Regions from separate parts of the Homo sapiens genome. Here region 1 is linked to region 2. The links are contacts of gene promoters, found by promoter capture Hi-C in human tissues and cell types (Jung and others, 2019). All regions are on one chromosome and are shown on one strand. The core of a region is centred on a gene start or on the middle of the fragment in contact, and the rest is flanking DNA. Distances in the headings are between cores, read along the strand shown. Region 1 has its middle 17 kb from the start of LINC01990. Region 2 holds the start of CCDC54 (coiled-coil domain containing 54).

Region 1 (6,023 bases), core at 1,084-3,583, 35 kb after region 2:
TTATGTAAGCCTTATGATAACCACAAAACAAAAACCTATAGTAGATACACAAAAGACAAAGAGAAAGGAATCAAAGCTTACCGGTATAGAAAAGTATCAAATCACAAAGGAAGATAGAAGAGATGAAGAAGGGAAAAAGAATACACAAAACATGCAGAAAAACAACAAAATGTCAGTAGTAAGTCCTTACCTATCAATAATGACTTTAAATGTAATGAGAGTTCAGAGACAGAATAGACAGGACGCAATAACTATTGCCAGCTTTTCCCCACATTCTTGCTCAATGCCATTTCCAAGTCCTGGAATGCTCTCCCTCTTCCAATCCATAATACCATCTCTGCTATTTGAAATACTTCCTATTGTTCAAGACCCATTCCTAAAGGCACCTCCACCATGAAAAATACCCAGCTCAGAGTAATTCCTCCATTCTCTGCTTTCTTTTCAGCATGGATTTATATAATCTCCTACTATACTTACCACAAACTGCTCAATTTAATGTAAATATATTTGTGAATTTGTCTTTTCTCCCCTACCAGAAATAAGTTCTTATTATTAAGGCAGATCTAGTGGCATTACTTTTAATGGTGAAAACTGCAATTACTTTTGAACTAACCTAATAATAGGAACATACTCTAGGCCAAAAGATAGCTGCAAGCATTTAATACCTGCAATGAAAACATGTCTGCAACCATTTTTAGGCCAATATCTGTTAGTGCAGCCTCTCCAAGCCAAATTCCTATCAGCTTATCATGCCAGCCAGCCAAATGCAGGAGTCACTTGACACACTGGACAACTGAAGAGAACTTTCTACATCCTAAAAAGAACAATATTTCACTAGAAACTTCCTTCAGACTGGGTTAAATCCAACATTTTGATGCACCTATGTCTATTAACCAAGATGATTTTTATCAATAGGATGCTGCCACCCACATCTGCTTATCCTGGTTATTCATTACAGAAACAAAAAATCACTTTGGATAGTGTTTAACTGTAAACTAAGCACGTTTAGATGTTCATCAACAATTAAAACTCAGCAGCATTGTTTCTGTATTTTTTTAATTAATAGCAGAAGATGATAACACTGAAGTATTTTTTATCAAGGGAAAAATACACACTGCTAGAATCCCATTTAGTCTGTTATTTCTCTAGAAATTGTATGTAATAGTGGGGTGATATTGAAATCCACAAGAAGTTATGTTTATTTAGTGGACCCTAACCAAGAAAGTTTATATACTGAAACAATGGCCCTCAGTGCATTTGCTTCACCAGAAGCCCCCATAGCACAGACTCCCAGTACTTTTCAGCATGATTTTAGTGTAGCAGAAACTGAGAGAGAGAGAATAGTAGACATTGTAGAATTCCTTGTTAGGCAAAAACCTTGGAAGTCATTCTGACCACTTTTTTTTTCTTTCATTATTAGTCCTACGTTCATTCACAACCCAGGGAAGGAAAGGCCAAAAATAGCCTCCAAACCATTGTGAAGCAGCTGTCTTTGGTGCGTGAAGGCAAGCAGACATTTGGAAGTCCAAGTTTAGATAGTAAACAGAGGCTATATTGAAACAGTAATCATGCTAATTAATCATCATTTTGTTAGCAAATGTGCTGCACTTTGTATTTTCAAAGCATTGTATCATCATTAATTAATCAGCTGTAATCACTATTGCAGTGGCAAATCAAATTATGTACAAGACTTGAAAAGAAATTGTTTCATATGGAGTGCACTTAAAAAGTGCAAGTCTTTTTCTTTCTGTTTTTGTTTTTTATTTATTTGTTTGTTTCTCCATCGAACAGGCTGTGCCATATTCTCTTTCACTTTTCTGCCCTAGCTTATGCTGTTCCTTCTACCTAGATCACAGATAACTCCTGTTCCTTTGTTAGATATCATCATAAGCAACACTTTTTTCTAGAGACAGTTCTCCAGGCCTGCTAAGCTATTTTAGAGACTCCTATAGTCCTTTTTCGTAGAAACTTTTACCCTCTGTTAAATTGCCTGTCTAGTTGTTTGTTACTCATGCTAGGCTGCAGGTTCTGTGAGGAAGAGGCCACAGATGACTTGTTCATCATTGCATCCCTGGCGTGGTGCCTGACACTTGGTAGTCACCCAAAACGTGTGTTTTTTAAATGGAAAAAAAAAAGAATCCTCCATGAGAGAGAGCTAATAAAAGGCAGTTATTGTTAACATGAGCTCTCAGTACAAATCAATCTACTCAGCACTCCAGATGCTCTATCTCATTTAATGCTCACTGTGTTCCTTTGAGGTAGGTACCATATAGGTAATTGAAGTGACAGAGAGTAAATCATTTGCCCATGATCACACTGAAAGTAAATAACGAAATTGAAGTTGCATCATAGATTTCTCTGATTTCAACCCTACATGTCTATGAAAGTGATGAACAAGAAAATAGCAGGCCCTAAATCCAGAAACTAATCTGACACAACCAGGTCTCAGTGTTATCACAAACTGGACCAATGCTAGTGGGTAGGCCATATTGTTGCTCTGTTGAACATTAGCAATCTCACAAAACAGCAGCATGAGACAAAGCCACTCTGAGACCATGATAAAGTGAAACAAAATATTAATAAGTCCACTTCATTATTTTATCTAAGCACACATCAAAATAAGGCCACTGTAGAAACCCCACAAAATACCAAACATCTCTTTCTCCTAGCTAATATGAGTCCCTGTTGCTTCTTTACTAATTATAGCTTTACCCTTGCTCTAATCTGCGATATGGTTTGGATCTTTGTTCTCACCCAAATTTCATGTTGAATTGTAATCCCTCGCCATGCTAGAGGTGGGGCCTAGTGGGAGGTGTGTAGATCATAGGGGTGGAGGCTTCATGGCTAGGTGCTGTTTTCCTGATAGCGAGTTCTCGTGAGATCTGGTCATTTAAAATTGTGTGAAACCTCCCAGACACAACTCTCTCTCACTTGCTCCTGCTTTCACCATGTGACATGCCTGCCCCCCTGTTGCCTTCCGCCATAATTACAAGCTTACTAAGGCCTCCCTAGAAGCCCAGCGGATGCCAGCACCATGCTTCTGGTAAAGCCTGCAGAACCGTGAGCCAATTAAACCTCTTTTCTTTATAAATTACCAAGTCTCAGATACTTCTCTTTTTTTGAGACAGAGTCTTGCTCTGTTGCCCAGGCTAGAGTGCAGTGGCACAACATGGGCTCACTGCAGCCTCTGCCTCCAGGGCTCAAGTGATTCTCCTGCCTCAGCCTCTCGAGTAGCTGGGACTACAGGCATGCGCCACCACACCGGGCTAATTTTTTTTGTATTTTTAGTAGAGACTGGGTTTCACCATATTGGCCAGGATGGTCTCAAACTCCTGACCTCAAGTGATCCGCCCACCTCGGCCTCCCAAAGTGCTGGGATTACAGGTGTGAGACACCACGCCCAGCCTTCAGATATTTCTTTACAGTAATGCAAGAATGGTCTAATACACCTGCCTTCTTTATAAATAAGGTTTATTGAGATACCCAATCATAGAATTTCCTTCACTTCCTGACAGCAGTTATGCAGAATAAATTGTTTCCCTAGACTCTTTTCAAAATCACCCATTCAAAGCCCCAGTTCTTTAATACACCTTTCTTAACATCCTCTTACTGAAACAGTTCCCTTGGCATGATTTTTGTCTTGCTGCAGTGAGAAATAAACTCAACTTTTTCAGCTACAGGTGGGTTTCTGGCTAGAGGGTATTGACATTGGGTTAATACAAAAGCACCTATTAGGCTGGAGAAAGAAAACGTGAGAACTTTTAATTATAAATTTTTGTTTTGAAAAATCAGAAAAATAATCTTAACCAATATTTAATACAGTATATACACATGGTTCCCTTTCTTCATCCTTCCCTCTGTGAGATGGCCACATGACAAATTAGGTACACAACATAACTAGAGGGTCACAGAAGGACAAATACTGTACAATTCCACTTACATGCAATATCTAGCAGACAAAATCATAGAAACAGAAAGTTGAATGGTGGTTTCCTGTGACTGAGGGGAGGGAAAAATAAGCAGTTGTTTGATGGGTATAGAGTTTCAGTTTTACAAGATCAAAATGTCCTACAGAACTGTTATACAACAAATGAATATATAGTTCATACCACTGAACTGTGCACTTTGAATGATTAAGAGAATATATTTTATATTATGTGTTTTCTGTCATGATTTAAAAAAAAAAAACTAGAGGGAAGAGTGAGTGTTCTACTGGAGGATTTGACATGGCAGCCATAGTCTTTAGTTCACTTCCTGGACACTGCAACATACTGCAGGTGACATTGTCCCCAGCAACAAAGTTTGTATCTTATGTAATTAGTCACTGATAATATACCTTAGTAACTAAAACTTGAACCATGTTATGAGGGTACTGGTACTATTTATTAAACCATGGTAACTGAAATTCATTTGACAGACTTTGTCTCTCATTTATGTTTTTCTCGAAGAATATAATGGTATATGCCATGTTAAAAAAATAGATGAGAAGGACAAAATCCCTCACTTCAACAAGTTTATAGTTTAATGGGTGTCAATAAAATACATAAATTCTGTAATCTGATAAACATAATGATCAAAAATAATGTACAAGTTTATAGGTGAGTGAAATTACCCTTAGTCAAAGGATCAAAAAGATAATGAAGCTAATGGCATGGAAGACAAACATTTTCAAAGTTATTCCTGTGGTTTCATGGCTTTCTATTGACAGGATCACATTTTTACTTGGTTTTTCCTATTTCCCAGATGTTAGTTGTTTTGCTGTTTTAAATAGTGTTATGATGAATAACTTTGTAATTGCAATAACTTTGAAGTGGAATACCTAGACAAATGGGCATGGAGATTTTTAAAGCTGTTGGTGCATACTACTGGTCTTAAAATGTTTAATGCCATTAGCTTTTATGATCTTTGTCTTCATTCCTCAATCAAAACTAATTTTACTCACCTATGAGTTTTCATAGCATCTTTGATCCTTATGTCCATTGAGTTATATTATTCTATGCATAAAAGTGTGGAAACAATACTTATAAGGTATTAGGGACCTATTTTTCTGGGGAGCCAAAATTGGGAAAATAGCATGCATTGCTTACTGAATGCCAACAATCAGAGCTGTCTCAGAGAACAAGAGTCTCTCCAAAAAATATTTTCTGAGCTTTCAGGAATTATAATCCATGTGGAAAAGTTAACCATATTGGTGAAATATTTAATAGTTTAGGAACATTTTGTACTTTGATAGCTTCAGAACAAAACCTCTTTGTGACTATTCAAACAAAGAAAATTTTTTTTAAAATGTAGTCAACTTGTGCTTGTCTTCCTTCTACCACCAAACTGGGTTCAGTGCCACTAACAGTAAGGGCTCTAGAGAAGAGTCAGGGGATAAATGAGGTAGGAGTGAATTTTGTTCATGTTTGGTATTATGTCTACATAAACATTTCATAATGCCTTTGAAACCATACACAAATAGTGAGTGATTTAAAAATTAGAATTTTGCTTATCTCAGGTTTTACATACCAACATGAAGCTAGAATTACTCTGTACTTCTTTCATGCTTATTCTGCTCTATTTCAGGAGAATGTAAAAATTATATTTCATTAATATTTTTATCCAAAAGGTTTCCAAAGCATTAGGTACAAAAATCAGATGAATATATGGACATTGCCTCAATTTTTCTGCATAGCAGGCTCACATCTGTGATTAAAAAGTAAAGAACTGGAGACTTTCCGTTTCTAGTCTGGCCTGTGAAGAACTTAGAAGTTGTCACACTTCCTAACAAGAGGCAAAAAGCTGAACAACCTGAAAAATCAACAGCACTTAGCGCTGTCAGAGAAGTGAGGTCACAGGGCAAACCACTGCCCCAAACTTGAAGAGAGCAACAAGCAAATACAGAGAATTGGAATTTACCACAGCAGAAACCCCAGGGGCAGGTTAGAAAACTTCAGCCTAAACTAGTAGCAGAGCGGGAAAACTTGAACTTCTAGAGGCTGAGTGAGAACCAGCCTGAGACCTTACAATTTTAGGAGGACCCA
Region 2 (6,854 bases), core at 3,422-5,921:
GTGGGAGGGTCCAGATTCTTGTGAACCTGGCCCCTAAATTTTGTGGGGGAAGTTAAAGACTCTTAATAAGTTTTTGTGGTCACGACCCCTAAGGTAACATGAGTAATAGTAGATCACTACAGGTGTAACACAAACGTTATACATAATGCTCAATTGCTAGCAGGATAGCTGTAACTATCCCACTCTCTCCTACACACACAAAAAAACATGTTTAAAAAAAACAGAGTGACTTTTTTGTTGTTGTTGTTTTTGTTTGTTTGTTTGTTTTGAGACGGAGTCTCGCTCTGTCGCCCAGGCTGGAGTGCAGTGGCGCGATCTCGGCTCACCGCAACCTCCGACCCCCGGGTTCTCGCCATTCTCCTGCCTCAGCCTCCCAAGTAGCTGGGACTACAGGCGCCCGTCTCCATGCCCAGCTAATTTTTTGTATTTTTAGTAGAGACGGGGTTTCACCGTGTTAGCCAGGATGGTCTCGATCTCCTAACGTTGTGATCCGCCCGCCTCAGCTTCCCAAAGTGCTGGGATTACAGGCGTAAGCCACCGTGCCCGGCCCAGAGTGACTTTTATATATGTAATTTATATAGATAATCTAAACTCTGCCATAATTAATATATAGTTAGTGTACTCAAAAACACAGCATTTAAAATATTGAATAATATTATGTATTATTAGACCCATCTAACCAGTGGTTATTCTACTCCAGTCTGCCTGAAACCAAAGCTGGTTGGGAAACCCTGTGCTAAGAGATAAAGGGCTGATGTGTCAGCCTTGTTTGCTGCATTTCAGTTGCCTCTAATCGAAATGCTTTCCCTGCATGGTATATTGGGCAGCAAGGACCACACACTTTATGTCTTGGTCATATTGAAAGAGGGAGAAAGGCAGAGTGAGAGATTGAGAGAGCAGGCAGCGCTAAAGCTGAAAACGGTTAACCATCTCCTTTCATCTGGAAGAAGAGAAGTGAGAGACAGGTGGTGGGAAATGAGGAGGAAAGGACTTGTAACTATTCAGCATCTTAATTCTCAAAACCAGTCACTGAACTAGGTGCTGTTATTATCCCATTTTACAGGCTTGTGGGAGGCTAGAAACTTGTGTAAGAGCACTGAGTTAGTCATGGGACAGCCTTGAACCTTTCTGGCTCCAAATACCATTCCTGTGAAAGCCAACCTCCTGGAGAACAGGTAGACTCAGGAAGTCTCCCACTAGGCTTCAGACCACTGTGCTATTTTATTTCTAAATGCCACCATACCCTTGGCAGGAACCCGAAGAGCGGAAGTCAGCTTATTTCCCGTTATTCATTCACTTTCTGACTGCTCTCATAACTTCGCCCAAATCAATAGGCTTACCTCCTCCCGGTGCAACTTTTCACCACCTGGCAAACTCCAGATAAGCCAAGGCTCCCTTTATTGACATTACGAAGGAAGTAGTTAGAAACCCAGACAGGTTTATGTTTGTATCAGCCTATTAGATTTATTTGTTTTATAAAAATAGTAAGCATACACTCATATTTTAAGTTGAAAACTTTAATTTTTTTAATTCCAATTATTGTATTACTATGTCTACCACAGTAAGGAAAGTAAGCCTCCAAATATTCACTTTTACCTACAAATTAGAGCTTGTTCAACTTCTAAAGTCTTCACAAATTTCTGTATCAAATGCTTTTGGTAAATAAAATAACCGATGAAAGCTTAAATTTTCTCATAATGCTAAACAGACAAAATTTTAATAAAATAAGTCTTCTATAAATATACAGTAGGATTTTAAAAAGAAAATGTCCATCTTTTTCTGAGTTGTACTAAATATATATTTTAATCATGATTGTGAGGCAGTAGAGGTAAAACACATGGACTCTGGAGCCAGAATGTAAGCATTTGAAATCTGACTCTGCCCATTTTTAAGCTCTATTACCTTAGGAAAGTTACTTGACTTCTCTGAACATAGTTAAGTAAGCTAATACTTAGAGCAGTGTCTGGTATGCACCCAACAAGTCTTAGCTGTTATTAACCTGGAGGGAGTAATTATGACAAGCAGTCCCTCTCATTTAACTGGGAATTCTTGGAAAGTGAGAATACGTAATACACAAATTGCCTCCAAATGTAATGAAATTTTAATAATACTAAATCTAACAATTAATGAATATGACATAGTACATTTCAGAGACGTTTCATTAAACATTTATTGCTTCAATCTTGCAGCTTTCTTTCAGTATTCTGAGCCACTGTTTTTTTTTTCTTCTGTTCTTAAGTATTTTCATTGGCCCTTAAAAACTGTATGGGCCCTAAGTACTGTGTCTGCAGAACTCGACGGATAAAATGGCCTTAGCCAGAGTAAACGGGACGGCTGTGAACTCTAACCTTTCCAAGCCCCAAATGCCATTCCTGTGATAGTCTGCCTCTTGGAGAATATTTTCCTCAGCAAGTGTTTGGAAAGGTTTCTAGACATTTTCGAAAGGTTACTAAACAGCATTTGAAAGATAGGAGAGTAAGGCAAAATCCCAGATATTATTGATGAGCCAAAATTTTAAAATTACTGCTGGAAAAGCTCACTGTTTGTACCAAATCCTGGGCCAACACTGACCCTCCAATTGGGCACAGATAGAAGAAACAGTGATTTGGTAGAAGGTTGGAATTGGCATGGATCCAAGAGGGAATGTCCTTTTGAGTAGAATGGGACTGCTCCTTGAGAGACATGTGAGTAACACGTCATTTTGATTCCAGAGTGTTCAGTCTAATGTGTTTAGAGAATAAAATTAAGTTTTTACCTCAATATATAAAATGGGCCAAATATTATTTAATATTTCAAAGGGTTTGAATTTCAAATACTGTTATGTAGAAAAACCTATAAGAAGGAACATGAGAAATGGCTGCTGTTATTTTTAAATTCTAAGGCAGTGGCTCTCAAAGTGTGGAATGCTTTGTGTCATGAGACCACTCTGTAAGTGTGACAATGAGGGCAACAATATTTCAAAATAATCCCAGGACACCGTTTGTCTCTTCCACTGTGCTTACATTTGCCTGTTGAAAATTACATTGCAAAAGCAATGGTGGGTAAAACTGTTGATACCTTAGCATGAACTACAGCAGGGGTACCACACTGACTAACAGTGACTCAATCAGAAAAGGAAAAAAATACAAGAAAAACCAGTTTCACTCAAGAATGTCCTCAATGAAGCAGTAAGAATTTTTAATCTTATTAGATCTCAACCCTTCAGTACATCTTTTTTATATTATGTATGATATAATGGGAAGTAAACATAAGTGCTTCTGCAGCTTAACAAAGTATACTGGTTTTCATGAGGAAACGTACATAAGTATTTGAATTACAAATGTGTGCTTTTTTCATGGAACACTATTTTTTCTTGAAAAAAACTGACAACAAACTACAGTGTTCATAGTTGGGCATTTGGCAAGCATTTTTGCAAAAAATGGATGGAGGGAATCTGTCACTTCAAGGAAAACAATAAACCAGCTTGATAAATTTCAAGATTTTCAAGCTAAAATTAGAATTTTGAAAAATCTGCATTTGCTACCATGAGCTTGGCCTCTTCTCAGTACTCAAAGACTTTTCTGGTGAGATTGGTGGAGATATTAATGAAAATGATATTTTGATATTATATAATACAATGAGTTGACATTTGGAAGACCTACATAATTCAGTGAACCATTGTTTGCCAAATGACCAATACATGATATTATGCATCTATTCAAAATAAAAAATAGACCAGCGGCTATTAATATAACAGAGTATGAAACTTCTTTGATTTGGCCTAAAATGACACATTGCAGCTAACTTCTTAAAAAAAATCATTTGTCAAATTTTCATAAAGTAGCAAAGAATGATATCCTCAATTATCTGAAAAAGCTATGAAAATACTCTCCCCTTTCCATTTACGTAACTCCATGAGGCTATTTTTTCTTCATATACTTCAAAATAATATATCACAACAGATATAATGCAGAAGCAGATATGAGAATCTAGTTATCTTCTATTAATTCAGGTATTTAAAACACTTGCAGATATGTAAAACAATGCCACTCTTCTCACTTTTTTTTTAGAAAACCAAATTATTTTTTATGAAAATATATCACTTATGTTAACATGTAATGGGTTTTTAAATTTAAATTAATAACTAATTATCTAAGACTTTCTTAGTTTTAATGTCTACTATAAAATGTAGGTAGATATAACCCAAATAAACAAAATCTGTGTGATCCTCAATAATTTTTCATTTTTATTTTTATTTATTTATTTATTTATTTATTCATTTTGAGACAGAGTCTTGTACTGTCGCCCAGGCTGGAGTGCAGTGGTACCATCATGGCATACTACAGTCTCCACCCCCTGTGCTCAAGTGATCCTCCCACCTCAGCCTCCCAAGTAGCTGAGGCTACAGGCATGCACCACCATGGCTGGCTAATTTTTTTATTTTTTTGTAGCAACAGGTGTTTTTCTGTGTTCCTCAGGCTGCTCAACAATTTCTATGATTCAAAAAGAGCCCTATGACCAAAACTTTTGAGAACTGCTGTAGTTAAATATGTTTGTTCTAAGCCAGCAGTCATTGTGACATCAGCAGCAGGTCAATGATTACCATATGAAAGATTCCATGCAGTTGACTATTATTTCACAGAGCTCTCTGGTTGGGCTGCTCTATAAGAAGCTAATCACCTAACAGTGTCTATTGCTGTGGCTGATGATTTCCAGAGTGTTCTAAGATGTTATCAGGAAAGGCATCCAACAAATAGTAAGAGAAGGACCATTTCATTTGTACATTATTTCTTCCTGTGATTCTGTTTTCCAACACCTTGCCTCTTGTTTCACCATGAAAGATGTACACACTTCACACCAAAAGGGTAAAAGCTGCTGCTAGGCAGATGTGGACTTCAAATCTCTCCAAGGTCAGACAGTCTCTTAAAAATGTTTACCACAAATGTAAGATTCGGCACCAAGATTCAACTGGATATCCCACTGTGACATCTGATGATTGTAATCAAGATGATGATAGTTATGACGGAAAAATGAATCTTCCAGTAGTGCTCCAAGATGTTAAAACTGCTCAAGTTGAACTTTTCAGCCAAATGACTGACATTGTCCATATGATACCAAAAGTCCAGGAAAAGACTGACTTGTATCAAAAACAGATGGAGGTCCTGGAAACCAGAATGAATGTTAATGAAGACAAACAATGCACAACGACTAAAGATATCCTCTCTATGAAAGAAGACATCAAGGCATTAAAGAAGAAGGTGACAGAACTGGAAATTCAGAATTCCTGCTCCACGATACATTGTCTAGAGATTCTGGAGGGAGAAAGGGGTAAAGAAATCACAGAACTGCTTTACAAACTCATACAACCAGCAACTCTGAAGAACACTTTGGCCTCTACAGACATGGAAATCTCTTCAGCAGAACCAGAGAAAGTGCCCAGTTATCCAAAGTCCACTGACCATCTTGAGAAAAAAACAATTTCTCCCCAAATGAAAACTCTGAAGAAACGTAACCATCAAAATGCATCAAGGAGCTTTGAAAAAGCAAAGCCAAATATTTACATTTACCCAGACTTCAGTACATGGATCAAGCTAACTTTTGTTCATGGAGGAAAATGGACATTTTTCCTCAGTGCTACCAAGTTAGAAGAATTCATCCAGTGGCTTCTTTCTAGGCCAACCATTCTTCCTGAGGAACCCCAGGTCATAACCCAGAGATACTGTCCATTCACTGGGCCCATTTTGAGCTTGACCACAATCTGTCTCTCCATCTTCAACAATATTTACGGCTTTATTTGTTCCTTAAAAGAAGAAGTAACTCGACTATAGAGTTATGTTCTGCTTTGCTTGGCACAAAATAAATGTAACCTGGAGGCTCCAAGTATTCACACATTGGTGTGGTGGCTGTGAATTCTTCGGTAGTTTGCTCACTCTGGGCCCACTATCTGCAGAGTTTCTCTATGTCTACAGTAAGTTAAGGCACATGATCTAATTGAACTGTTGTAATTCGTTTTCTCTCAATGTTCTTGTTTTCTCAAAGGCAATTCATGAGGACTCATCCTGGGTCCATTTTCATAGATAATTGGAAACAAAGAATGAAGGAGTCCAGGGCAATGTGTAGTATGTTTGGTGGCCTCCATGTCAGTTTTCTATACACTTTGTCCTCGTGGCCTTTGTGGATACGGTTTGTGATACCAGAAACATACACTACTGACAAGACTTCATTTTATTTGTTATTTATTTTTGAAATGGAGTCTCACTCTGTCACCCAGCTGGAGTGTAGTGGTGCAATCTCGGGTCACTGCAACCTCCACCTCCCGGGTTCAAGTGATTCTCCTACCTCGGCCTCCTGAGTAGCTGGAATTACAGGCGCACGCTACCACACCCAGCTAATTTTTGTATTTTTAGTAGAGACAGAGTTTCACCATGTTGACCAGGCTGGTCTCAAACACCTGGCCTCAAGCGAGCCACCCACCTCGACCTGCCAAAGAGCTGGGATTACAGGCATGAACCACCACGCCCGGTCAGACTTTAGGTAGTATAGAGTGAAAAGGATACCCATTGTCAAGGCTACTAAAGTTAGCAGTATAAAAATGAAAGGGATTGAAAGGCTAAGTTATTGCAAGGAACATATTCAAAATATTGGCTTTTTCTTTCAACTTCAGCTTCTTTTCTATGAAACAATTAGATAAGAGGAGAAAGACAATATGATACTGGGTAATTTTTACATTTTCATGAAAGGAGAAAAATACCATGTCCTATAGGTTTGATGCAGGGGAAAAGGGAAGATCTAAGAAGGGGTTTGTGAACTAAGTTAAATCTTACCACTATAATACCATAAACTCTTATATGATAGGTTTTTCTTTGTTTGTTTGT

Evidence for each region. Contacts are between HindIII fragments. The study calls those that stand out against the background at their distance.
Region 1: a fragment that was not itself captured here is called in contact with the fragment with the promoter of CCDC54 in region 2 in 1 of the 25 tissues and cell types used here (bladder).

The regions. Positions count from the first base shown.
Region 1 is chr3:107,410,511-107,416,533 of GRCh38, forward strand. No RefSeq gene overlaps it. Among named protein-coding and RNA genes, the nearest start is that of LINC01990, 17 kb to the right of the region's middle. The HindIII fragment of the contact is 7,217 bases long and covers 1-5,942 here.
Region 2 is chr3:107,372,768-107,379,621 of GRCh38, forward strand. It overlaps CCDC54 (coiled-coil domain containing 54), which reads left to right and starts at 4,672. Exons shown (of 1, transcript NM_032600.3): 1 at 4,672-5,868. The coding sequence starts at 4,821. The coding sequence ends at 5,807. The HindIII fragment of the contact is 13,990 bases long and covers 1-6,854 here.